Regions from separate parts of the Homo sapiens genome. Here all the other regions are linked to region 3. The links are contacts of gene promoters, found by promoter capture Hi-C in human tissues and cell types (Jung and others, 2019). All regions are on one chromosome and are shown on one strand. Each heading gives the region's core, a stretch centred on a gene start or on the middle of the fragment in contact. The rest is flanking DNA. Distances are from core to core; before and after follow the strand shown. Region 1 overlaps PHC2 (polyhomeotic homolog 2). Region 2 has its middle 36 kb from the start of TRIM62. Region 3 holds the start of A3GALT2 (alpha 1,3-galactosyltransferase 2).

Evidence for each region. The method cuts DNA at HindIII sites, captures the fragments that hold promoters and counts their contacts. A contact is called where the count stands out against the background at its distance.
Region 1: a contact is called between a fragment that was not itself captured here and the fragment with the promoter of A3GALT2 in region 3, in 4 of the 25 tissues and cell types used here (H1 embryonic stem cells, IMR-90 fibroblasts, dorsolateral prefrontal cortex and 1 more).
Region 2: a fragment that was not itself captured here is called in contact with the fragment with the promoter of A3GALT2 in region 3 in 3 of the 25 tissues and cell types used here (adrenal gland, hippocampus and liver).

The regions. Positions count from the first base shown.
Region 1 is chr1:33,421,851-33,425,543 of GRCh38, forward strand. All of the region lies in intron 1 of PHC2 (polyhomeotic homolog 2), which reads right to left. Among named protein-coding and RNA genes, the nearest start is that of PHC2, 7.4 kb to the right of the region's middle. The HindIII fragment of the contact is 3,548 bases long and covers 405-3,693 here.
Region 2 is chr1:33,216,210-33,220,302 of GRCh38, forward strand. It overlaps a transcript of ZNF362 not described here. Among named protein-coding and RNA genes, the nearest start is that of TRIM62, 36 kb to the left of the region's middle. RefSeq lists enhancers at 3,199-3,799, 3,934-4,093. The HindIII fragment of the contact is 7,640 bases long and covers 1-4,093 here.
Region 3 is chr1:33,319,460-33,323,156 of GRCh38, forward strand. It overlaps A3GALT2 (alpha 1,3-galactosyltransferase 2), which reads right to left and starts at 1,639. Exons shown (of 5, transcript NM_001080438.1): 1 at 1,617-1,639. The coding sequence starts at 1,639. The HindIII fragment of the contact is 15,797 bases long and covers 1-3,697 here.

The DNA of each region.
Region 1 (3,693 bases), core at 929-3,428, 100 kb after region 3:
CACTCCTGCCCAAACCACCCTTCACATTGCTGATGTGTTCTTTCTAAAAGGCGGATCTGATCTCGTTACTCCTAAGGGCTTTAACAGCTCCCTATGGCCTCCACCATAAAGTCCAAATTCCTTAGCCTGGTAAACCAAGCCTTTTGTGATTTGATGCCAGCCTACTTTTCAGCCTTATTTCTGCAATGACCCTCCTCAAATGTTCTGCTGTGGTCTTGAAAGGTTGTTTGGAGGTCCCCCCATATGTGTTCTCTCAAGCAAATACAACCTCACCTTTGCAGACATTGCTTCTGTCTGGCTGAGAAGCTTCCTCTTACCCTGTCACTTTCTCCAGAAAACTTTTCCTAACATTTCTAAGCAGGGACCATACTTCTATTATGGTACTAAGTACAATACCATAATTAATGTTTCCATGTCTTTCTTTCTTTAGAAACCTCTGTAGTACCTGGCCTGGGTTCTCCTCATCTTTGAATCCCCCCAGCTGCTAGAGTGAGGTATAGAAGCTTATTAAATGTTTGTTGAATAAATAAATATGATTGTAGAGGCCAAAAATAGAAATAAAGCTTAAATACTCAGGTAAACAAAGACAGAAGGATACTAAAAGGATGGGCAAGCCCATCCCTGTAATCAGAAGATTTTGTCATGGCTTGAAGCTACAATACACCCTTCCAACTGAGCTTTGTTATCATGATCAGAAACCAAATTTTTGGCTGGTTATACAATGGGCCTGACCTAGTACCACATTCCCTACTTATATTATTCCAAACCATTTCTAATACTCTGCCTTTGAGAAAGCAATTTCATTTTCACGGGCTTTAGTGTCACCATCTTATGTGAAGTAACCTCTATTTCAAAATGCCCTAAAAGCCAAGTTCTGCCCTCTTATTCTAATTCTCATTTTCTCTCTCTCTTACTAGGCGGAATGGAAAACTTCCTTGGTAATTTAAGAATGAGAATAGTCTGAGCCTAAATTTACTGTATACTTTAGGCAAGTTATTATACCTTTATACATCTCAACTTTCTCTTCCTTCAAATATCAATTCTATCTAGGAGGCCCCAGGAAATAAAGAAAGGTAAAACCTACACAATTCTTATTATGTACCTCACATTATTAACCTGTTTAATTCTATAATTCTTCGAGGTAGGGACTGTGATTCTCCCCCACTATACCCAAGAAGACTAGAGCAGAGAGAGTACAGATGGAAGGCGGCTGGGAAGTTCACAGCTCATGAGTGGCAGAGGCAAGGCTGGAACCCCAGCATTATGGCTCTAGTGTCCCTGCAGTGAACCCTTACCTCCAACTGCCTCTCTGCAGGCCAGCGGAAGATACTGTGCTTGGAACATAACTCTAGCACATTGAAGTATTAAAGGGCTTAAAAAGTATATACTTTTTCAAACAAATGCAAGCCTTATTTGTAACTGAAAACAAAATAAAAGTGGGAAGAGAAGGAATGGAGACACTGAATGGTAGGCTTCAGATATGGGACAGTGTTCCATATTTCAATCCAAATGCATTTTACAGCCAAGATTTTAAGACCTGAAACCATCCATCCCGTACAGCTAAAATAAGAAGGATCTCATGATTTTAGCCATCAAGGAGACGGATGTGTCCTACACTGGTACTATATCTAAAATTAAGATGACACTGTCACTAGATGAACATCTACTTTGGGGTATGGCTTTATGGACCAATGAATTAGTTTTTTCTCAGGAGCAGCAACCAAAGAATAGAAATAACAGAAGATACACTCCTGTTAAGCTTTTTGTACAGAAGCAGAATTTTATTTCTAGAAACAGCATTAAATATTTAATTAAGTTCACATTACCCTATACTAAAAAAATTAATTTGGGGCAAAACTTGGAAGAACTAGGTGTAATGCAGTACTTTCAAATTATCAACTGCTTATAATTGTATTTCCTTCTGGACAATGAAAATACATATTTTTTATTTAGAAAGTGCTGAATAAGGCCGGGCACATGACTGATGCCTGTAATCCCAGCACTATGGGAGGCCGAGGAGGGCAGATCACGAGGTCAGGAGTTCAACACCACCCTGGACAACGTGGTGAAACCACATCTCTACCAAAAATACAAAAATTAGCCGGGCATGGTGGCACACACCTGTAGTCCTGCTATTCGGGAGGCTGAGGCAGGAGAATCGCTTGAACCTGGGAGGCGGAGGTGGTGCAGTGATCCAAGATTGCACCACTGCACTCCAGCCAGGTCGACAGAACGAGACTCCGTCTCAAAAAAAAAAAAAACAAAAAAAACAAAAAACAAAAAAAAAGAAAGTGCTGAATATTTGTTGAGTAAATTAATACTATTATAGAGATTGATTCATTAATACTATTTTAGAGATAGATTCATTTCCAGATGGTTCCTTAAAACGAACGGGTGCCTTATAATAGTCATCATTTGTTCTGGAGAACTTACTCCTCAAGTCTCTTGAAAAGTCTAAAGCCACCTTTATCTGTACCCATGGTTTCTACATCTTTTCTTCCCCCATTAGAAAGAGAACAGAGAAAGATCAGGTTACATTGCTTCTGTGGGCCTGTAAAAATTCCTGCGAGGTTCTCTCTTCTGTCAGGAAAAGTTTCCCTAGCAACCATATTTACACACTCACTCAATTCCCTCCCCTCCTTTGATTCACTGGTGGGTATAAAAATTAATTTGCATTGATTTGCTGAAGCTTACAAGTTAATCATTCTAATAGACTCACAAAATTTTAGACGCTGGTCTCTGCCCAAAACTTGTTTCTCAAAGGGCCTGTTCACTTTCTTTAGAAATTTGAATGTAATTATCTTCAGTTTAAATATTTTTAAATACATTTAATATGTATTCGGAATGTTTCTGGCTTCAGGTAGAGAAAATAATATTTTTCTAAGGGCATCTGGCCTATATTATTAGTTAGGACGATCAAGAAACAAAGAGATACTTTAGTTCTGAGTAAGCAAGGAGTCAGATTCTTATCCAGCCATAATAAGGCCCTGGAAGATAAAAGTCAAGGACCAAAACAAAAAGTCTGGGTCACATGAAATGATGAATCAGGCCTAAGATTCTGGGTGATCAGAGGTCAGGACCTGGATAACAGGAATGGGACATGAATTATCAAGAATTGAGTTTCATTAATTCATTCACTAAGTATTTGCTGTGCAGCTACTAGGGCATGGTGTCGGGAAAAGAGCAGTGAATAAGCCAGACACAGATGTACCCTCATAAAATTTAAGAGTCAAATATCTGAATAGTGAACAAATGTTGATTTTATTATTGAACCAAGTATCTTTGGACTAGGGGTGCTCACTGTATAATTTCCTATAAGGGCCAGAATTGGTTTCAGACTAGGAATGGCACAGAGACCTATAGATAAAGATAAATTCAAGAAGTCTTCACTGGAGTAGATAAGTTGGCAAGTCAAGCAGTCTTGGACATATACAACGTTTCTTTACATTTAACCTTCAACAACGATATATGAGCCTATCACAGGAAACAAGGCTGGATACTTTGCAATATACCTACGTTTTATAAAGAATAAAGTGAAAGCCGATAAAGGTATGAGTTATTCTTAAGCTCTTTTAACAACCATTTACTGAGCATCTGTGACATTCAAGAAATAGTTTTAGGAACTGAAGTTAAGGGTATGAAAAAGACATGGTCCCTAGCAATTATAACAATGTGGTAAATGCTATAATGAGA
Region 2 (4,093 bases), core at 159-2,658, 100 kb before region 3:
GACTCTTCATTTGACCAGCATCTCTTGTCTGCTCACTGTATGCTAAGCACAGGGCTAGCCACAGACGGTACAAAGATGAATAAAGTATGCTCTTAAGAAACAGAAAAAAGGGCCGGGCGCGATGGCTTATACCTGTAATCCCAGCATTTTGGGAGGCTGAAGCGGGCAGATCATGAGGTCAGGAGTTCGAGACCAGACTGACCAACATGGTGAAACCCCATCTCTACTAAAAATACAAAAATTAGCCAGGCGTGGTGGCAGGCGCCTGTAATCCCAGCTACTCAGGAGGCTGAGACAGGAGAATCCCTTGAACCCAGGAGGCAGAGGTTGCAGTGAGCCGAGATTGTGCCATTGCACTCCAGCGTGGGCCACAGAGCAAGACTCTGTCTCAAAAAAAAAAAAAAAAAAAAGAAACAGGAAAAAAAAAATTCCTCTGGGAGTCAAAGAAGGCTTCCTGGAGGAAAGAACATTTATTTAGGATGATTTTAAAGAAGGATCAAAAGCTTCGCACTTATAGAAGGCAGGAATATAATAATAAATAGAAAGAGTTGCATGAGCCAAGGTACAGGAAGGTAAAAAGACTTGGTAGAGTCAGCACATAGGATGGGCCCCCTGTGCAGGTGGCTGGAGGGGCTGGGCAAGGGCTGCAAATGGAGGGTGGGTTCACATCACTGAAGGCCTTGAATAAGGGCGGTGGGGAACCACAGAGAGCTTTTCCAAGCAGAGGCGACGCGTGGGAGTAGAGTTTTCAGGGAATCCCCCTAGGGTGGTGTAGAGAATGAATTGCTGAGGCGGTTCTGGAGGCAGGAAGACTGGGGATGGAGAGAGGCCACCATCCATCCCTTACAACCCAGCTTCCAGCTCAGCATCAGGAACAGGCACGTGGCACAAAGATGTTCCCAGGGAGCAATGACTTCCTGGCTCAGTGCTAAGGAGGCTAAATTGGAGATAATTGTACTCCCAGCAAATCAGTAACAGCACCATCTCAGTGGAAACCTGCTGCCTAACCTGATCTAACTTCTGACCTTCAGATCCACCTTATGAAGTGAGAGCAGTGAGGAAGGAGCCCTGGCCTAGGGTCTGAAGGCCTGGGTTTTGGTGCCCAATTCAGCACTAGCTCACTGTGTAACCTTGGCCAATTCCCTTGCCCAATCTGAGCCATGTAATCTGTCACTCCTGCCTCACACAGAGGGTGTTAGACCAGCAGGCGTTTTCCTCTCTGACCATCTAGGACTCATTCCAGGCAACTTTACACTGGGTCAGATGCAGCTCCAGATCTCTGCACCCCACCTTAATATCCCAACCACCAGCTTGCTGTCCTAGCAGGGCCACCCCCATCCTACCACTGGGCTCCCCCACCTGGGGAAGCAAGATCTTCTGACTGTTCTCTTTCTTCAGAATGAAAACAACTTTATTGTTTTCATTATTAAAATAATATAGACTCATTAAAAAGAAATTTAAACCATAAGAGAAGTATACAGGAGAAAGTAAAATTTAAGTGAAATCTTATTATACAAAGGTAGCCACCATTAAGATTTTGGTAACAGTCTTCCAAGATAACTCCTTATGTTCACACACACACACAAACACACACCCACAACTTTATGTAAACTGGATCATAGTATTTTAACTATGGTGCAATCTCAGTTTTTCACTCCATAATATGTCATGGATATCTATGTAAAAAATATATTTATCTTATTACTGTCAAAGTTTTACTTTGATTACATACTCACATACAAATATACAATTTACATAAATGTATAAACGTGATCAGCATGAACATGAGCAGAATCCAGTTACGTCTTTATTTTTAGTGGCTCCCTATTTTTCTCTATAGTCCATAGATGGACCATAAACACTGTAGCAGCAAACACCTTTAAACATATATTCTTTTGCATTTTTAGGATAAATTTCTAGATGCAGAACAGTTAGGTAGAAAAATGTAGGGGCTGGGCATGGCAGCTTATGCCTATAATCCAGCACTTTGGAAGGCCAAGGTGGGAGGATCACTCGAGTTCAGGAGTTCAAGATCAGCCTGGGCAACATAGGGAGATACTGCCTCTACAAAAAATTTAAAAATTAGCTGGGCATGGTGGTGTATGCCTATGGTCCACGCTACTTGAGAAACTGAGGCAGGAGGATGACTTGAGCCCTGGAGGTCGAGGCTGCAGTGCCCTGTGATTACACACACCACTGCACTCCAGCCTGGACCCTGTCTCAAAAAAAAATGTGAATATTAAAATTTTTGATATTGCCCTCCAAAAAGCTAGTACCAATCTCACTGCTACTGACAATACATGAATGCCTGTTTCTCAGCACTCTTTCTAAAAGAAGGCATTGTCAATTTGTAATCTAACAGGTGAACTTGTCATTATTGTTTTTATTATCATTTATTTGGTTATTAGTGAAATTGATCATCTGCTTATTGGCTATTTGGATGTTTTCTTTTGTGAAATGGCCTGTTTATGTCCTTTGTCTATTTTTTTCTGTTGGATTAAATTTGTTTGTTTCTTATTGCTTTTTAAGAACTCTTTGTATATTAGGGATTTAACCTTAACCCATCTGGTTTCTCAGGGTCCGTGGAGTTGGGCAATGTAGTCCCCTGTGAAGTCAGATTCCCAAGAGATTGGAACAGTTCTGCCTCTGGTCAGTGGAGGGCAGCAGTGGCAGCAACATTCACTTTCAGGCTGGACGCACAGGTCTGCCCAGGAGCTGGACATACACACACACACACACACACACACACACACACACACACACACACACACATACACCACCCCCTGCCCCCCCGCAAGAGACTTCCTTCCTTTCTCAGGAAGCCACTTGATTCACTGACCCTTAAGGGCCCCAAACACAAATTATTTCCCCTTAGTCTCTAGAGATAACCTCTAAACATTGAAGAGAATCAGGCTCTGAAGTTAGACTGGAGTTCAAAATCCAACTCTGTCATCTCCTGGCTGGGGGCTGGGTGTGACATTCATGACCTCTGTACCCTCAATTTCCCCATCTGTGAAATGGGTCCAGTGGTACCCACCTTCACTGGGTATGATGACGGTAAAGTGTACGGTTGGCGCTCAGTGAGTGTGAGCCCACAGTGGGCCTGCCCAGCCCACTTCCCAACCTCTGCCCGCCATTCATTCATCGGCGGACCAGAGACAAGTTGGCTCCTGCTGTCTCAAGCCTGCCCACATGTTTGATTAATTCTGTGTCTAAGAAAGATTCACTGGGTAGTATGGAGGGAGATTGCAGGGCAGGAGCCCAGCGAGGAAGGGGAGGACTCGTGAAGACCTAACCAGGTAGCATGGGCAGCAGGGCCCAACAGGAAGATATGGTGTTCCCAGGCAGAAAAGGCCAGCACATGGCCGTGGGTGAGATGTGCTGGCCAGGAGAGGGGTGAGACGGGGCATGCCCAGGTTTCCTATCTGAGGGACTGTGTGGACAGCCAAGGAGTAGGGGCAGTTTTGACATGGGGTAAGTTCTGCTTGAATTCTGCTGAGTTTGAGGTGCTGGAGGGACTTCCAGGATGCTTTCAGCAGTGGCAAATCACAGCTCTAGCCTGACCTCTCCCCATCTCTCACACCTGAAAAACCTGGGTCTATCCCTGCCCAGGGATCAGAGCTGCTCTAGACTAATTCAAGCCAAGGGAGGAAATTGTTTCTGTCCTTACTTCCTTTCCCGTCTTCCTCCTTGCTACCCCAACTCCCCCTAGATACCCTTTTCCAGCTCAGGGCCCCCTACTCCTCCCTTATACTGGGAACAAGGCATGGCCGAAGAGGCCCCTGGCTCAGAAGGGGAAACTGGAAAAATGGGTTTCTGATGGGCATGACTATGGCCTGGGGGTGGATGAATCATCAGAGCCAGCAGAGGGAGAGCGCAGTGGAGCAGAAGGTGAGTGCTGGGCCCAGGCCCCGGAGGCTGTGGGCTTTGTAGGGAAGGAAAGGTGGGCAGGGAAGGGGTTGTAAGGTCACAGGACTCTGCAGTGGGGGGTTTGGGGGCCTGTCCTGAGTTTCCCTCAATCTCCAATCTGGTGCCATGGCTAAGGCAGGATTATAGACTTCTATTCCATTGTTTTTATTAATAATGATAGCAA
Region 3 (3,697 bases), core at 389-2,888:
CCACATCTTCTTTTAGGAGTAGGTTTGGTTCCCTCCCTCTTTGCTACACATATAACAAACTCAGGTGGGGCCTGGTTTTCATTTTCTTCCATAAAGGGAAAATTAAGGTCCAGAAAGTGAAAAGAACTGCCCAGAGTCCTATAGGCCAGTGGTGCACCTGCGCACGTGGCCTGCACTCCAGCAGCAGGAGAGGAGGCAGCACATGGGGCGTTCGTTCTTGCCTGGGGGCTCCCCACGGCTCACTCCCCAATCTCAGCATCCTCTCCTCCCCTGTCAGCTCAGGGTCCTGCCAGTCATTCCCTGCCTCCTGGGGCACCAGGCTTTCCAGTCCCTAGTTCTACCCCCTGGGGATCAACTAATCAGCTTGTTTCTCCTCCAATAAGTATCCGTGTTCTTTAGGTGAAAAGCCCCAACCTACTGCAGGTTTTCAGGGTGCACCTTCAGTAGGCATTTGCCATTCCTGTTTACACTTTACACCAAGGCATTTGCACGGCGGGTAATGGGTGGGGTTGGGCTTTGAGTAGGACTGCCCGATCCCCCAGCCAGAGCTTCCAGCATGGCATTTGGGTTCCATTTGACCTGGGCCTAGCTCAGCCCTGAGGCTCATCTCACAAGGTTCTCGGCCCTGTTATTTCTCCCCGTGGGCTTGGCTTCTTCCCTTCGCACTCTATTCAGCTCCTGTCTGAGCTCCTGGAGGGCTGGCTGCAGCTGGGCTTCTCTGGTTCCTAGAAGCCTGGTCAAACCCCGTACTGGGAGCTGGCAAGGCTGCCTCGGGAGGTGCACTGTGGGAGGTGTGCGAGGTACTGCGTAAGGTACTACAGGAGCAGGAAAAGGCTGGAGGGGCTTTCTCCCCCTCTGTGGCTGTCCCACCCTCTTCACCAGCCTCCTCCCAACCAGGGTAGGGCAAACCGATGCTTATTCTGGGCTCTGGGCCTCAGCCAGGGCACACAGGCAGAGTTGGTCTTGTGAACTCCTGTGGTCAGGCCTGGGAGGGTGCTGAGACCCAGGACTGGGTGGGACCCACCAGCTCCTCCTGCCCCTCCTATGCCCCAGCCTGGGAGCCCGTGGTCTGTGGAGGCCCCTGATCAGTCCACTCCTCCACATTTCTTGTTCAGGTTCTACCTGCAGAAGGTGGTCCCTCAAGCTCCACCCTGTGCCCTGCTCCCCACTCTCGTTGGCTTCAAGAAAGGGTTAAAGATCAGCCATTAGGTCTTAAGGGGGCACAGGTTCCTAGTCCTGGACCATCAGTCCCAGTGGGGATAGAGGGAGCTCTCAGTTACAGTCGGGGAGGGAATGTACCCCCGGGTCTCTGCTTTCCGGCTCGCCAAGGGGGTTTAGAGTTAAGGGAAGCAAGGGGAGTCCAGCTTTTCATTGGCTACAAAATCTTGTGGAATACAACCTCCCCCACCCCGGTGTCCATGCACACGGATTGTCTTTCTTCTCCTGGGGCAATGTCCCCTCTCGGAGCCACCTTTCCCCAGGACTGGAGGCTCAGCTGGTACTCCTGGGCTCACTCTGGTGCCTCCCCTTGGTACTGTTTTAGCCATCAGACTGGATCCCTCTTAGCTCAGCTGTCCCCAAGCTTTCTTCCTCTCCATACCATTGTCCCCCCTCACCTGAGTCCCTCCTTGAGAGCCATATGGGGAAGCAGGTAGGATGGCCTGGAGCAAACTTTCCCAGCTTAGAGCTGGGGAAGAAATGGCCTGCTCCTGGAGATCTGGAACAAGCAGCTCCTCCCCCTTTACCTGAGGAGCTGCACCCACAGGAGCAGTCAGGATGGACTGCCTGCGAGGGACCTGCCGGGGATGCAACCTTTTGGGGGAAGCTGGCCCCAAGGTGGAGTGGGGCTGGCAACCCTTTTGGGGCCAATCACCTGGAAGAGGGTGGGTCTGAGTAGGCCAGTTCTGGTTGGCTGGAGGCTCTGTCATTTTGTACAGACTCCTCTTCCCTCCCCAGGGGAAGTGTCTTTGGTTCTTGGGAACAGCTGGCAATCAAGGTATGGTGTTTGCCACGCAGGAAAAGCCGTTCTGCACAGAGCCTCAGCCAGATCTGAAGGGCACTCGGCACCTGTGACCTTGGACAGTTCACCTAGTGGAGCCCTTTACCTTCTCAGTAGAATGTACACCAGTACATACACCAGTCACCCAGGAGAGAGAACCATGTAAATTCGTGGATGTTGAACCGTTGTGATTTACTCTGGGCAGTGCTTTTTAAAGTTCCAGTTGTGACCTATCTGAAGGCCGTGTAATGAGTTTAGTGGGTCGTGACCAAGATTTTTAAAATACGAACAGGAATACAATGGAAAATATTCTATATTGTACGTAAGGGTAGGTTTTGTTTCATGAAATGTTTGTTTCAGTTGATAGATATTGAAATGTGTATACAAGTTTGGGAAATATTTCTTTAAATTGTGGATCATGATGGAAATAGGTCTGTGAAATTCAGTGTGAAGTGTAAACAACAGGAATAGCAAATGCCTATTGCAGGTGCACCCTGCAAACTTGCAGCAGGTTGGAGCTTTTCATCTAAAGAAGATGGATACTTATTGGTGTGAATCAAATTCACCACATCTTCTTTTAGGAGTAGGTTTGGTTCCCTCCCTCTTTGCTACACACAACAAACTCAGGTGGGGCCTGGTTTTCATTTTCTTCCATAAAGGGAAAATTAAGGTCCAGAAAGTGAAAAGAACTGCCCAGAGTCCTATAGGCCAGTGGTGCACCTGCGCACGTGGCCTGCACTCCAGCAGCAGGAGAGGCGGCAGCACATGGGGCGTTCGTTCTTGCCTGGGGGCTCCCCAGGGCTCACTCCCCAATCTCAGCATCCTCCTCCTCCCGTCAGCTCAGGGTCCTGCCAGCCATTCCCTGCCTCCTGGGACAGGCTTTCCAGTCCCTAGTTCTACCCCCTGGGGATCAACTAATCAGTGTGTTTCTCCTCCAAGACAGTTCCATTTTAATAGGCTTTCCAAAGAGGAGTTATTAAGATGTGAGTGTTGGTTCTTGAAAGTTACTTTCAAGTAAGTAATTGTCCTTTAGAGACTGTGATTCAGTAGGTTGTGGCCTGACCCTCAAACCACCCCCACCCCTGCTTTTTTTTTAAAAAAAAATAGGGTTTTTGTCTGTCACCTGGGTTGGGGGTGCAGTGGTGCAATCATAGCTCACTGCAGCCTTGAACTCTTGGGCTCAAGTGATCGACCTCAGCCTCCAGAATAGCTGGGATTACAGGTATGCACCACCTTGCCATTTTTTGGTATTTTTTTGTAGATATGGGGTCTCTCTATGTTGCCCAGGTTGGTCTCAAACTCCTGGCCTCAAGCAATCCTCCCACATCGGCCTCCCCAAAGTGCTGGGTTTACAGATGTGAGCAGCCATAACCTAAATTTTTAACAGGTAGAAATGGTCCCTTAGGGAAAAACCTGATGAAGGGGGAGGAGCAGTAAGGCCAAGCTGCCTCTTTTTCCCCTCCCCCCATAGATGTGGGGTAGATTTCACTCCACGCAAGAGGGCACATGGTTATTCTGTGCTTCACCCCAGTCTCATTTCTAGCACAGTGCCTGGTTCAGAGGCATGTGGTCAACACAGGTCACGGTTAGCAGCACACACGTCTAATCCAGCCAGCTCACCTGCCTCTCATTTGCACTTCCACGTTCATGCTTGTGCCTTTGCACTTATGCCTCGGTCTGGAATGCCCTTTCTCCTTC